Linked DNA regions of Homo sapiens: region 2 is linked to region 1. The links are contacts of gene promoters, found by promoter capture Hi-C in blood cells and fetal thymus (Javierre and others, 2016). All regions are on one chromosome and are shown on one strand. Each heading gives the region's core, a stretch centred on a gene start or on the middle of the fragment in contact. The rest is flanking DNA. Distances are from core to core; before and after follow the strand shown. Region 1 holds the start of PRC1-AS1 (PRC1 antisense RNA 1). Region 2 overlaps CHD2 (chromodomain helicase DNA binding protein 2).

Region 1 (6,141 bases), core at 1,666-4,165:
ACACTGCGTTTTATTCATCCGTGCATTGGTGGATATCTGAGTTGTTCACTACAGTCAATAATGTTGCTGGGAACATGGGTGTACAACTCTCTTGAGTCTCTGCTTTCAGTTCTTTTGGATATATACCCAGAGTGGAATTGCTGGATTGTGTGGTAATTCTAAATTTTTTTGAGGAACTGCCCTGTTTCCCACAGAGGCTGCATCATTTTACATCCCCACTGGAAGTGCACACAAATCCTAATTTCTCCACATCCGCGTCCACACTTGTTTTCTATTTCTGGTTAACAGCCATCCTAATGGGTGTGAAGTGGTATTTCATTGTGGGTTTTTTTTTTTTTTTTTGGACAGGGTCTCTCTGTTGTCCAGGCTGGAGTACAGCCTCCACCTTCTGGGCTTAAGCCATCCTCCCGGGTAGCTGGGGCTACAGGCACGTGCCACCACATCTGGCTAGTTTTTTGTATTTTTAGTAGAGATGGGGTTGTTGCATATTGCCCAGGCTGGTCTCAAACTGCTGGGCTGAAGCGATCCACTTGCCTTAGCCTCCCAAAGTACTAGGATTATAGGCATGAGCCATCATGCCTGGCCAAGCCATTTTTTAAAATGGACAAAAGTCAACAAAGACGACAGAAGGATAGCAAGTGAGCATATGAGAAGATGCTCTACATCATTAGTCATTAGGGAGTTGTAAATGAAAACCATAGTGAGACACCACTCCATACACAGAATAACTAGAATTACATAAAGGCTGAACATACCAACTGTTGGTGAAGATGTGGAGAAACTGGAACCTTCATACATTACTGGTAGGAATGTAAAATGGTACAACTGCTTTGGAAAACAGTTTGGCATTTCTTCTTTTTTAAGATGGAGTCTTGCTCTGTTGCCCAGGCTAGAGTGCAGTGGTGCAATCTCAGCTCACTGCCACTTCCGCCTCCTGAGTTCAAGGAATTCTCCTTCCTCAGCCTCCTGAATAGCTGAGATTACAGGTGTGTGCCACCACAGCCAGCTAATTTTTGTATTTTTAGTAGAGATGGGGTTTCACCATGTTGGCCAGGCTGGTCTCGAACTCCTGACCTCGTGATCTGCCCACCTTAGCCTCCCAAAGTGCTGGGATTACAGGCGTGAGCCACCATGCCCGGCCCAGTTTGGCATTTCTTAAAAAGTTAAGTGTACACATACCATAGATGTGATCCAGCCATTTCACTCCTAGGTATTTATCCAGAAAAAAAAATATATCCATACAAAGACTTGTACATGAATGTTTATAACAGCCTTGTTTTTAATAGCCAAAAACTGGAGAAAAGCCAAATGTGAAAAATAAACCTAACAGGCGAATAAACTGGTATATCAACACCATGGAATACTAAGCAAAAAAAAAAAAAAAAAAAAAAAAAAAAAAAAAAAAGAATTATGGATATAAGCAACAATATGGGTAAATCTGAAAGTAGTGAAAGAACCAGACCAAAAAAATATATACTGTATGATTCTACTTACATCGAACTGTAGAAAACGCAAACTAATCTGTAGTAACAAATCGGTGGGCCAGGTACAGTGGCTCATGCCTGTAGTCCTAGCACTTTGGGAGGCCGAGGTGGGCGGATCATGAGGTCAGGAGATCGAGACCATCCTAGCTAATACAGTGAAACCCTGTCTGTCTGTACCAAAAATACAAAAATTTACCAGGCGTGATGGCACGTGCCTGCAGTCCCAGCTACGCGGGAGGCTGAGGCAGGAGAATCCCTTGAACCTGGGAGGCAGAGATTGCAGTGAGCTGAGATTGTGCCACTGCACTCCAGCCTGGCAAGAGCGAGACTCCATCTCAAAAAAAAAAAAAAAAAAAAAAAAAAAAATCAGTGGTTGCTCGGCAGGGTGAGGCTGGGAAGGAGGAGTGAGAAAGGGGTGGGAAGAACTGCTGGGGTAGAGAGACTTGGTTAACTGGACTGTGGCGATGGTTTTTCTCTTACGCTTCACATGTGTGCAGTTTATGTCCATCCTCCTTCAGTAACGCTGTTGAAGTTGGGCAGCCTCCCCATATTGAGACAAACGGCATTGAAGCCAGAAGCATCCTAGGACTCCCTTTGCTCTCTACACATCAGGGGTTAGGTTTTATATTTCTCACCAAAAAATTAGAGTAAGAGATATTCTTAATTTAGAAATGTACCAGAGAATATTTTAAAAATCACACTCGGCCGGGTGCTGTGGCTCATGCCTGTCATCCCAGCACTTTGGGAGGCAGGCAGATCATCTGAGGTCAGGAGTTCAAGACCAGCCTGGCCAACATGGTGAAAGCCTGTCTCTACTAAAAATACAAAAATTAGCCAGGTGTGATGGTGCGTGCCTGTAATCCCAGCAAATCGGGAGGCTGAGGCAGGAGAATCGCTTGAACCTGGGAGGTGGAAGTTGCACTGAACCAAGATAGTGCCACTGTACTCCAGCCTGGGCGACAGAGTGAGACTCAAAAAAAAAAATCACACTCCTGACTAAAAATTTCCAGGAGGTCCTTTTAGTTTTTTGTGTTTGTTTTTCACACACAGACCAACCAACTAAAAAGTGACTGGGGAAAAAAAGGAAACACCACACTATATCTTTTTGAAATGTAAGTATACAGATTTTAATTTATTTTTAAGAATAATTGTATATTTTAAAAACAGGACACGTACTGTATGAGTAAACAGCGTGGCTAACACCAAGTCCACACTGGTAAGCTTTTGAGAACCATTTACACTATGTTGACAGTAGTACTGCTGCAGGCAGACAGCGGAAGAATAAATAATAGTGCTTCAAGAAGAGTAGTGATTGAGAGGATAGGTAAAGAGGGCGCCTCATCGTGGAAGCTAGAGCAGGAACACCTCCCCAGTAGTGACATGTGCAAAGTTCCAGATCTCCACGACAAAGACAGCTCAACCCATTGGAACAAACAGACTCCCAATGTGGCTGGCAACTGCGGGGGTAGAAGAACTCAGGCAAAGTAGGCACAGGAATGGGGGAGATGAGAGCCAAGGGACAAACGCCGAGAAAGCGTTCCGACAAGCATGTGTGTTCATACATGCATACCCCCAACAAAGGGCAATGCACTGTGTAACAGAACTGAACACAATTTAACAAAGCTGCTCCCAGCCTTCCTGTCACCTCTTTGGCAGTAGGGCAGGCCATCTCAACTTCGGACACACAAAGACATTCTCTTCAGGAGGAAGGCTGTCCTGTGTGGTGGGGACAAGGCTTCAGGTAAGAGCAAAGCTATGATAGCTACAGCATTAATTGAACATGCCTAAACAAAAAAGATGTTAATTACTAGTTACAGGTATACATGCCAAAATTACCCCCAGGGATGGGCATAGTCAATCATTTTCCTACAGTGGTGAAATAAAACAAGCTTTGATCATGCTTCAGCAAGTAGAATTATGTGGTAGAGAAGTCAGGCCCCATATGCTAAAATTTGCACTTCTTGCCATAAACTTTTCATGTATATAAGTCAAAACCAAGTCTCCTAGGACCACTAAACCTATGATGGGCTTTCAACTGTAACACTCATTCACATCTTTAAGTTAGGCCCATGGTCATGGAACCTGGCCAAGGTTTCAAGCACGCCTAAGCTGAAGAAAAACTAAAGTCACCCCCATATAATTAGGTCCAGTCTAGGCACAGGAAGCCACAGCTGGTTGACTGATCAGGGCTTCTCAGGACTGGATGTTGGTTGAATTGAGGATTCCAGAAGTAGCATCAGATTTGGAAGCCTTTGAAAGTTCTCGCTGTTGAAAAATAAATAACATCAGTGGCCATACTGCCTCTCTTACACATGGCCCACCCTTCTAAGTTTGGTTAAGTGTCAGCAAAAGGTCCCTTGAAGGTAGTTTCTCTGAGATCCCTAGCCTGCAATAGGCTGCGTTAGGAGTAAAAGGTGAGGAACTCTGAGCACCATTCTATTAGTCACAGACAGAGTGCATGTGCACGCATGCCCGTGACCCCTTTTTCCTCAGCCAGTCCATTCTGTTACACCTCACAGAAGAGAAATCCTTCATACAGTCATGCACTGCATAATGATGTTTCAGTTAACGACAGGCCACATACACTATGGTGGTCCCATAAGATTATACCATATTTTTACTGTACCTTTTCTATGTTTAGATACACAAATACTTACCATTGCGTTACAATTGCCTACAGTATCCCAGGAATAGCCTGAATCAAAAAAACCCACAATTGCCTACAGTATTCTTTCTGTAACATGCTGCCCAGGTTTGTAGCCTAGGAGGAAAACGCCATACCATATAGTTTAGGTGTGTAGGCTGTTCTGTCTAGGACTGTTAAGTACACTCTGATATGTGCACAATGAAATTGCCCCACATTCTCAGAACATATCCCTGTCATTAAGCGAGGCATGACTCTACTTCACAGAGCTACTTTAGAGTTGTCAAGGTAAGTAGGCAACAAGCTTTGGTCTCTTGAGCCCTTTATAAAACAATGGGCCAGAACATATATCTACCAATCCCTGGGGCTGAGGCCTTGTAACCTGCTGGTGATTTGATCTCATGCTGGAGCACATGGTAGAGCAGCAAAAGATAAAGCATGAATGGCTATTGAGAAAGACAGATATTAGCAGAGGTTAGTTTACCGGCTTTGGTGCTGCCTGGTGGAGTCTATCAGCCATAGCAACCCAAACCAGACGAACCTACCTAGGACTAGCCACACAGATAGGCAGGTACATTTAAGCCTCAGATAAAATGGGCCTTGGTTGAACAAGCGAAAAAGAGAAAGCTGGACCTCTGTCCAGCAATCAGCCAGAGTGACACACACCCACTTTTAAAGGTAGAAGCACCACCAGCCACGTAATTTGAAAAACATGCTGGAGTAGGAAGCCAGTTTCAGTGATCAAAACTAGCTGCAGCCTTGGCCAACTGTTCCATTCTCTATCCCTGCAGCAATTAAGAGGGGAGGCAGGCTAGGGGTTTAACTCAATATCCCCTCAAGGGTGAGGAACATCCTCTCCTCTTGCTAGTAAAATATTGAGAGAAGAAATCACAGATTAAGTAAAAGGCAGTGTAGTTAGGTGTTAGCAAATATAGAGTAGGATACTAGGAAGTGAAGAGCATTCTGGAAAAACTTGCTTCCAGTGCTTCATCTATGCTTCAGTAGCTCAATGTATGGAAAGAGGCAAAGGTGAGGAAATCAGCATTAGCTAGCTGAGAATAGAGCTGGCGGTTAAGCCCTGAGGGGTTAGGAAGGCATATACTCCAGGAAATAATCAGCACACAGGCCAAGAGCCTCATTGTAGGCAGCACACAGCTGGGGCTCCCTTCCCCATGTGATTGGGGGCCTCTATTCTTTCCAGCTATTGCAGGCCTTTGATGTCACAATTGGGGAGGGTCAAGGTTTTCTGTTAAACGTGATTTAAAACTGTGCCTGACTTTAGGGGCTGAGAATCCAATTCAAGTCTGAACAAATTTTATTAATTAATCTGTTGTGAATGTAAATCAGATGTGTTTTTTTGAGTCCATGATAGGAATTCCTGCTTCCTTTGTAACACTGCTGAGATTATTAGTTAGTGTAGCCCTGTGCCCAGATGAATGAAGCCAGCAGATGACAGATCAGTTTGGAAAAGGGACATGCAGGGATTGCCATACAGACCTGAAGCCCAACAGTGGAACTGTCAGAGAGGGACGGATCCTTCTAAGAACAAAGAATTAAGACAATTACCAAGAACTCCACCAAGAGAGCACCAGGACAGTGATAGAGGGGTTGCCTCCTGCAGCCAGGGAATGGTATGTATTAAGCAGAAGGATCCAGGTTAAATGTCTAGTTGCTGCTGCCAACTTCCTTCCTACACAACCCCCCCTTAAATCACACCCACCCTGCCATGGTCAAAGCAGGAAAGGGATTCTCAGCCTCCAAGGTAGCTGCCCTAGCTAATAGCCTGGGTGCCCCTGGGAAGATACCCACTCTGCCCCAACTGTGTGCTCCCCAGAGACTGGTAGATATTAGAAAAGGTGAATTACCGCAAACTCAGAATAGGTGCTGGCAACAGAATTAATGCTGAAGTTGCGCTGGAGGGGGGCCGAGCCAGGGTACCCACCACTCAGGATGCTGCCGTTGAGCTCCAGGTTCTCCTTGTTGGCTCCATGCCTGCCAGTACGGGGTGTTTTC
Region 2 (4,673 bases), core at 1,554-4,053, 2.0 Mb after region 1:
GAGTGGGGGGTGGAAGATGATTCTCGCCTGTTGCTGGGGATTTATGAACATGGCTATGGAAACTGGGAGTTAATTAAAACAGACCCAGAGCTTAAATTAACTGACAAAGTAAGTAACCCTACCATGCTAGAGATTTCTAGAAGATTTGTTGTGTAATATTTTTATATCGATTACTTATTTCTAACTATTTTCGAGGGGGCATCAAATTAGAAATTAGTATAGTCATTCTTGGAAATACTTCCATCTTTAGCAGATTGTGGCACTGTTTCACGGATGAAGATAAAGGGAAAAGACAGTAGCCAGGTGAAATTTTGGGGAAACTGTAGGAGAAATCTTAAAATTCTGGTATTTAATTATAGGTCAGATTTCATTACAATAAATACCCAGGTGAGTTTGTTAATGATAAAAGCATTCCTTGGCCTTAGTTATTGGCCCTTTGTTTAAAAGTACATTTGAAACAACCATATTTCACTTCCTCACGTAAAGATTGAATGTCACCTTGGTATTCTTTGTAATGGAATTAAACATTGGCTGTTCTTCTCCCACAAAATCGAGCCTCCCACCCTATCTGTTGCAAGTAGCAAGGCCATGGTTGGAGCTATAAGCAGGGAAGGCTGACTGGCTCAAATTTTGGTAGGATTTGCTCCATGTTGTGCTCCTGGCAGTTCAACAGTGCTCATCCCATCTGGTTTTAGGAGGGTGACAGCACCCTGCCTTAAGCACTGAGACCAGATTCAGTCTGGCAAGAGACCCAGTTGTTGTAGCAAGGAACAGATCATGTCCTGGCGTAGCTCAGTGCTCTCCGGCAATGCTCTAAGAAGCATTTTCAATCTAAAACGAAGCTTTAACCTAGCTCCAGGGATTCCCTGCTCCTGGAAGGAGGAAATCCACGACGGCTGGGATGCTCTAGCAGATGAAGCCACAAGCCCCTCCTACCTGAGTTGTTCTACCCTGTTAACAGCACAGGTAGGAGCCATTGGGAGAGCTGGATTTCTCCATCCCATTTTGTAAAATGAGAACGGCTCGTGAGGGATTTTCAGTGACTGGGAGCCATGGACATGAGATAGGATCTGAGGCTTTATCTATATTTTGGGTGGTTGGGGAGGGAAAGGACTGTGCTCAGTTTTTGTTGTCTCTGTTTATCCTGATCCACTAACCAGGATGTGGGTGGTGGCGGGTGCTTCTCTTCCTTTCTTGTTGAAGATTCTGCCGGTGGAGACAGATAAAAAGCCTCAGGGGAAGCAGCTACAGACCCGAGCGGATTACTTGTTGAAGCTGCTCAGAAAGGGTCTGGAGAAGAAGGGGGCTGTGACAGGTGGGGAAGAGGTGAGTACGCTGCCAGCTGGTTGTTTTTCAGGGGCCTGAGGCTCCTACCCTGCAGAATTAGGTAGGAAGAGAGAGGCCCTCTCTGAGCACTGCACAGAATGTCACCTTCTCATGGGCATATTTTGTTTTTGAGGTTCCAGTAATGATGCTTTGCTTGGTAATAATAGAAATGTTCATTTAGGCCTGGCGCAGTGGCTCATGCCTGTAATCCCAGCACTTTGGGAGGCTGAGGCGGGCGGATCACAAGGTCAGGAGATTGAGACCATCCTGGCTAATATGGTGAAACCCCGTCTCTACTAAAAATACAAAAAAATTAGCCGGGCGTGGTGGCACACGCCTGTAATCCCAGCTACTTAGGAGGCTGAGGCAGGAGAATGGTGTGAACCCGGGAGGCGGAGCTTGCAGTGAGCCGAGTTCGGGCCACTGCACTCCGGCCTGGGCAACAGAGCGAGACTCCGTCTCAAAAAAAAAAAAAAAAAAAAAAAAAAAAAAAAAATTCATTTAAGACCACGGCATCTTGGCAGCTTTCTTACAAACCCATCCTTCTGAAATGTTGCTTCAAATTCATCCTCTGCTCCCCAGTCCCACTATTCCACACATACTGTTACTGTTTCTTTATCCTACTTTCTCAATTTTGGAACATAGTTGCAGTTACTGCATTGAATACCTGTGGGTTTGCCTGTTGTTCTGTCTGTCTCTGTGGTTCTTGTAATAGTGGATCCCAGAGATAAAATGGACAGTTGTAATGCACAGTTAATTCAGAAACTAGACCTTACTTGCTGTGTGAAATACCAACTAAATTCTCAGTGAACTCAGCTGAGCTTTATCTCCTTTTGTTTCCCCAATTTATAATTTCAGTTCAGGCCCAGAAAGATGGAATCCCAGCTAAGAAATACAAGTTACACCCTGTACTAGCAGCCCATGTGTGCATGTTCTTTAAGTGCTCTTGCAGCTATGTCATTTATATTGATTTCCCTGTATTATTATAAGCAAAGCAAATTTGAGGAAAAAAACCCATAATACCACACCTCATTTTTTTCAAGTAATAGGGTCATAAGTCTCATTCTTCATATAATATGTTGAGTATGCAATATATTATGTGTTAGGCTCTGGAAAGGCAGAGGTTAGATCATGTTACAGATCATATCTGATTAGGCAGATAAACAGTATTTTAACCTTTTCCTTATTATATGTAACTTGCTTTCAGGTTTTTTAATGTTACTATTATGTCTTTAATATATTATCTTTATTTGTACTTTTGTATACAGAGTGATTTTCCTTTTTTAAAAAAAATTGTGTCTTTAGGATGGATTCCAAAGATGTGGAATCAGTAGGTTTAAGGAATATGGATATTTTGGCTGGCAAGGTGGCTCACACCTGTAATCCCAGCACTTTGGGAGGCTGAGGTGGGTGGATCACCTGAAGTCAGGAGTTCGAGACCAGCCTGACCAACATGGCGAAACCCTGTTTCTACTAAAGACACACAAAAAATTAGCCAGTGGTGGTGGCATGTGCTTGTAGTCCCACTTAGCTACTCGAGAGGCTGAGGCAGGAGAATCGCTTGAACCCGGGAGGCAGAGGTTGCAGTGAGGCAAGATGGCACCTCTACACTCCAGCCTGGGTGACAGTGCAAGACTCCATCTCGGAAAAAAAAACGAAAAAGGAATATGGACATTTTAATGTGGTATAGGCCATGTATAAGGCCTATAGGTTTTTATTTGTTTTGGTTTGGTCTTGTGAGGTAAAATGAGTTGCACTCTTTTGATTTCTTTGGAATTTTCTTGTTTGAATTATATGGCTGCTACTGCTTTAAAGAGTCATCATGTTGTTTGGTTATGCTTTTGAGTGTCTTGATTTGTATTTTAATCATCATTTTCTCTCCTTTTCCAGGCCAAATTAAAGAAGCGGAAGCCTCGGGTAAAGAAGGAAAACAAAGTGCCCAGGCTGAAAGAGGAGCATGGAATTGAGCTTTCATCTCCTAGGCATTCAGATAATCCATCAGAAGAGGGAGAAGTGAAAGTATGAAGTGGGGTTTCGGTTGAGGGTTATTTATTTATTTTAGCTATACTTATCATGCCAGCTGGAATAAAATCATCTGAAATGTGTTTGGTTTACGAGTGGATTAAATGGAAATAGAATATGTAAGTCTTCGCTTAATCTGTCAGCGAGGATAGTTTAAGTCAGCAACTGCAAATTTGTACATAATGGAAGTAAATGAAGGGGACTATGACATTTTTGTTGTTGTTGTTTGTTTGTTTGTTTTTGAGATGAAGTCTCGCTCTTGTCCGCGAGGCTGGAGTGCAATGGCACAATCCTGGCTCGCTGCAATCTCTGCCTCCCAGGTTCAAGCAATTCTCCTGCTTCAACCTCCCAAGTAGCTGGGATTACAGGCACCTGCCACCACGCCAGGCTCATTTTTGTATTGTAAGTAGAGATGGGGTTTCACCATGTTGGCCAGGCTGGTCTCAAAACTCCTGACCTCAGGTGATCTTCCTGCCTCGGCCTCCCAAAGTGCTGGGATTACAGGCGTGAGTCACCGCGCCCGTCCTAAAGTTTTAATGATAAATGGCGATTGACACGTAGCCTCATTCTTGCAAATGACGGGGAGTGGTCAGGACTGTGGTTAACCAGAGAGCTCATGCCTAATGTAAAGGGGGCAGCTGCTATGGAGTTCTGTTAACAAAACTCCTGTGGGTCAGGTTTGGCTTGCCAGTTTGTAACCTCTGGTCTAAGTAAAGTGAATAGTAAGTTGGTATCATTTAGTGTGCTATTTCAGTGACAACTTTATGGAATTTCTGAGAGTGTAATTGTACTTGGATATTAGCTCCAAGAGGATCAGCAGTGTGTACAGGAACTAGCATGGATTTGAGTCATACATACAGATATTTATTTATTTATTATGAGTTGCTTTTTGAGATGGAGTCTTGCTTTGTCACCCAGGGTAGAGTGCAGTGGCGCGATCTGGGCTCACAGCAGCTTCCACCTCCTGGGTTCAAGTGATTCTCCTGCCGCAGCCTCCCAAATAGCTAGGATTACAGGCACCTGCCACCACACCTGGCTAGTTTTTGTATTTTTAGAAGAGACAGGGTTTCACCATGTTGGCCAGGCTGGTGTCAAACTCCTGACCTCAGGTGACAGGTCTGCCTCAGCCTCCCAAAGTGCTGGAATTATGAGCATGAGCCACTGTGCCTGGCCAATACATACGTACATTTAAATACTAGCAACCTAATCAGTTATTAGCTGACTTTGTATAGGTATATAATCTCTTTGGTACTCAGTTTCCATCCGTGAAATGAGAATAATAAACTTACGTTGAAGGGTTGCTATGAGAATTAAATGAGAGGATA

What was found. Contacts are between HindIII fragments. The CHiCAGO score rates a contact against its expected background, and 5 or more counts as called.
Region 2: a contact is called between a fragment that was not itself captured here and the fragment with the promoter of PRC1-AS1 in region 1, in 1 of 17 cell types (erythroblasts). The highest score is 7.3, in erythroblasts.

Annotation. Positions count from the first base shown.
Region 1 is chr15:90,963,454-90,969,594 of GRCh38, forward strand. PRC1-AS1 (PRC1 antisense RNA 1) reads left to right here and starts at 2,916. Exons shown (of 4, transcript NR_051984.1): 1 at 2,916-3,225. It overlaps PRC1 (protein regulator of cytokinesis 1), which reads right to left. Exons shown (of 15, transcript NM_003981.4): 13 at 5,994-6,141; 14 at 5,626-5,667; 15 at 2,587-3,749. The coding sequence ends at 3,678. The HindIII fragment of the contact is 668 bases long and covers 2,704-3,371 here.
Region 2 is chr15:92,997,296-93,001,968 of GRCh38, forward strand. CHD2 (chromodomain helicase DNA binding protein 2) reads left to right here. Exons shown (of 39, transcript NM_001271.4): 30 at 1-108; 31 at 1,204-1,326; 32 at 3,217-3,345. Among named protein-coding and RNA genes, the nearest start is that of RGMA, 90 kb to the right of the region's middle. The HindIII fragment of the contact is 3,926 bases long and covers 841-4,673 here.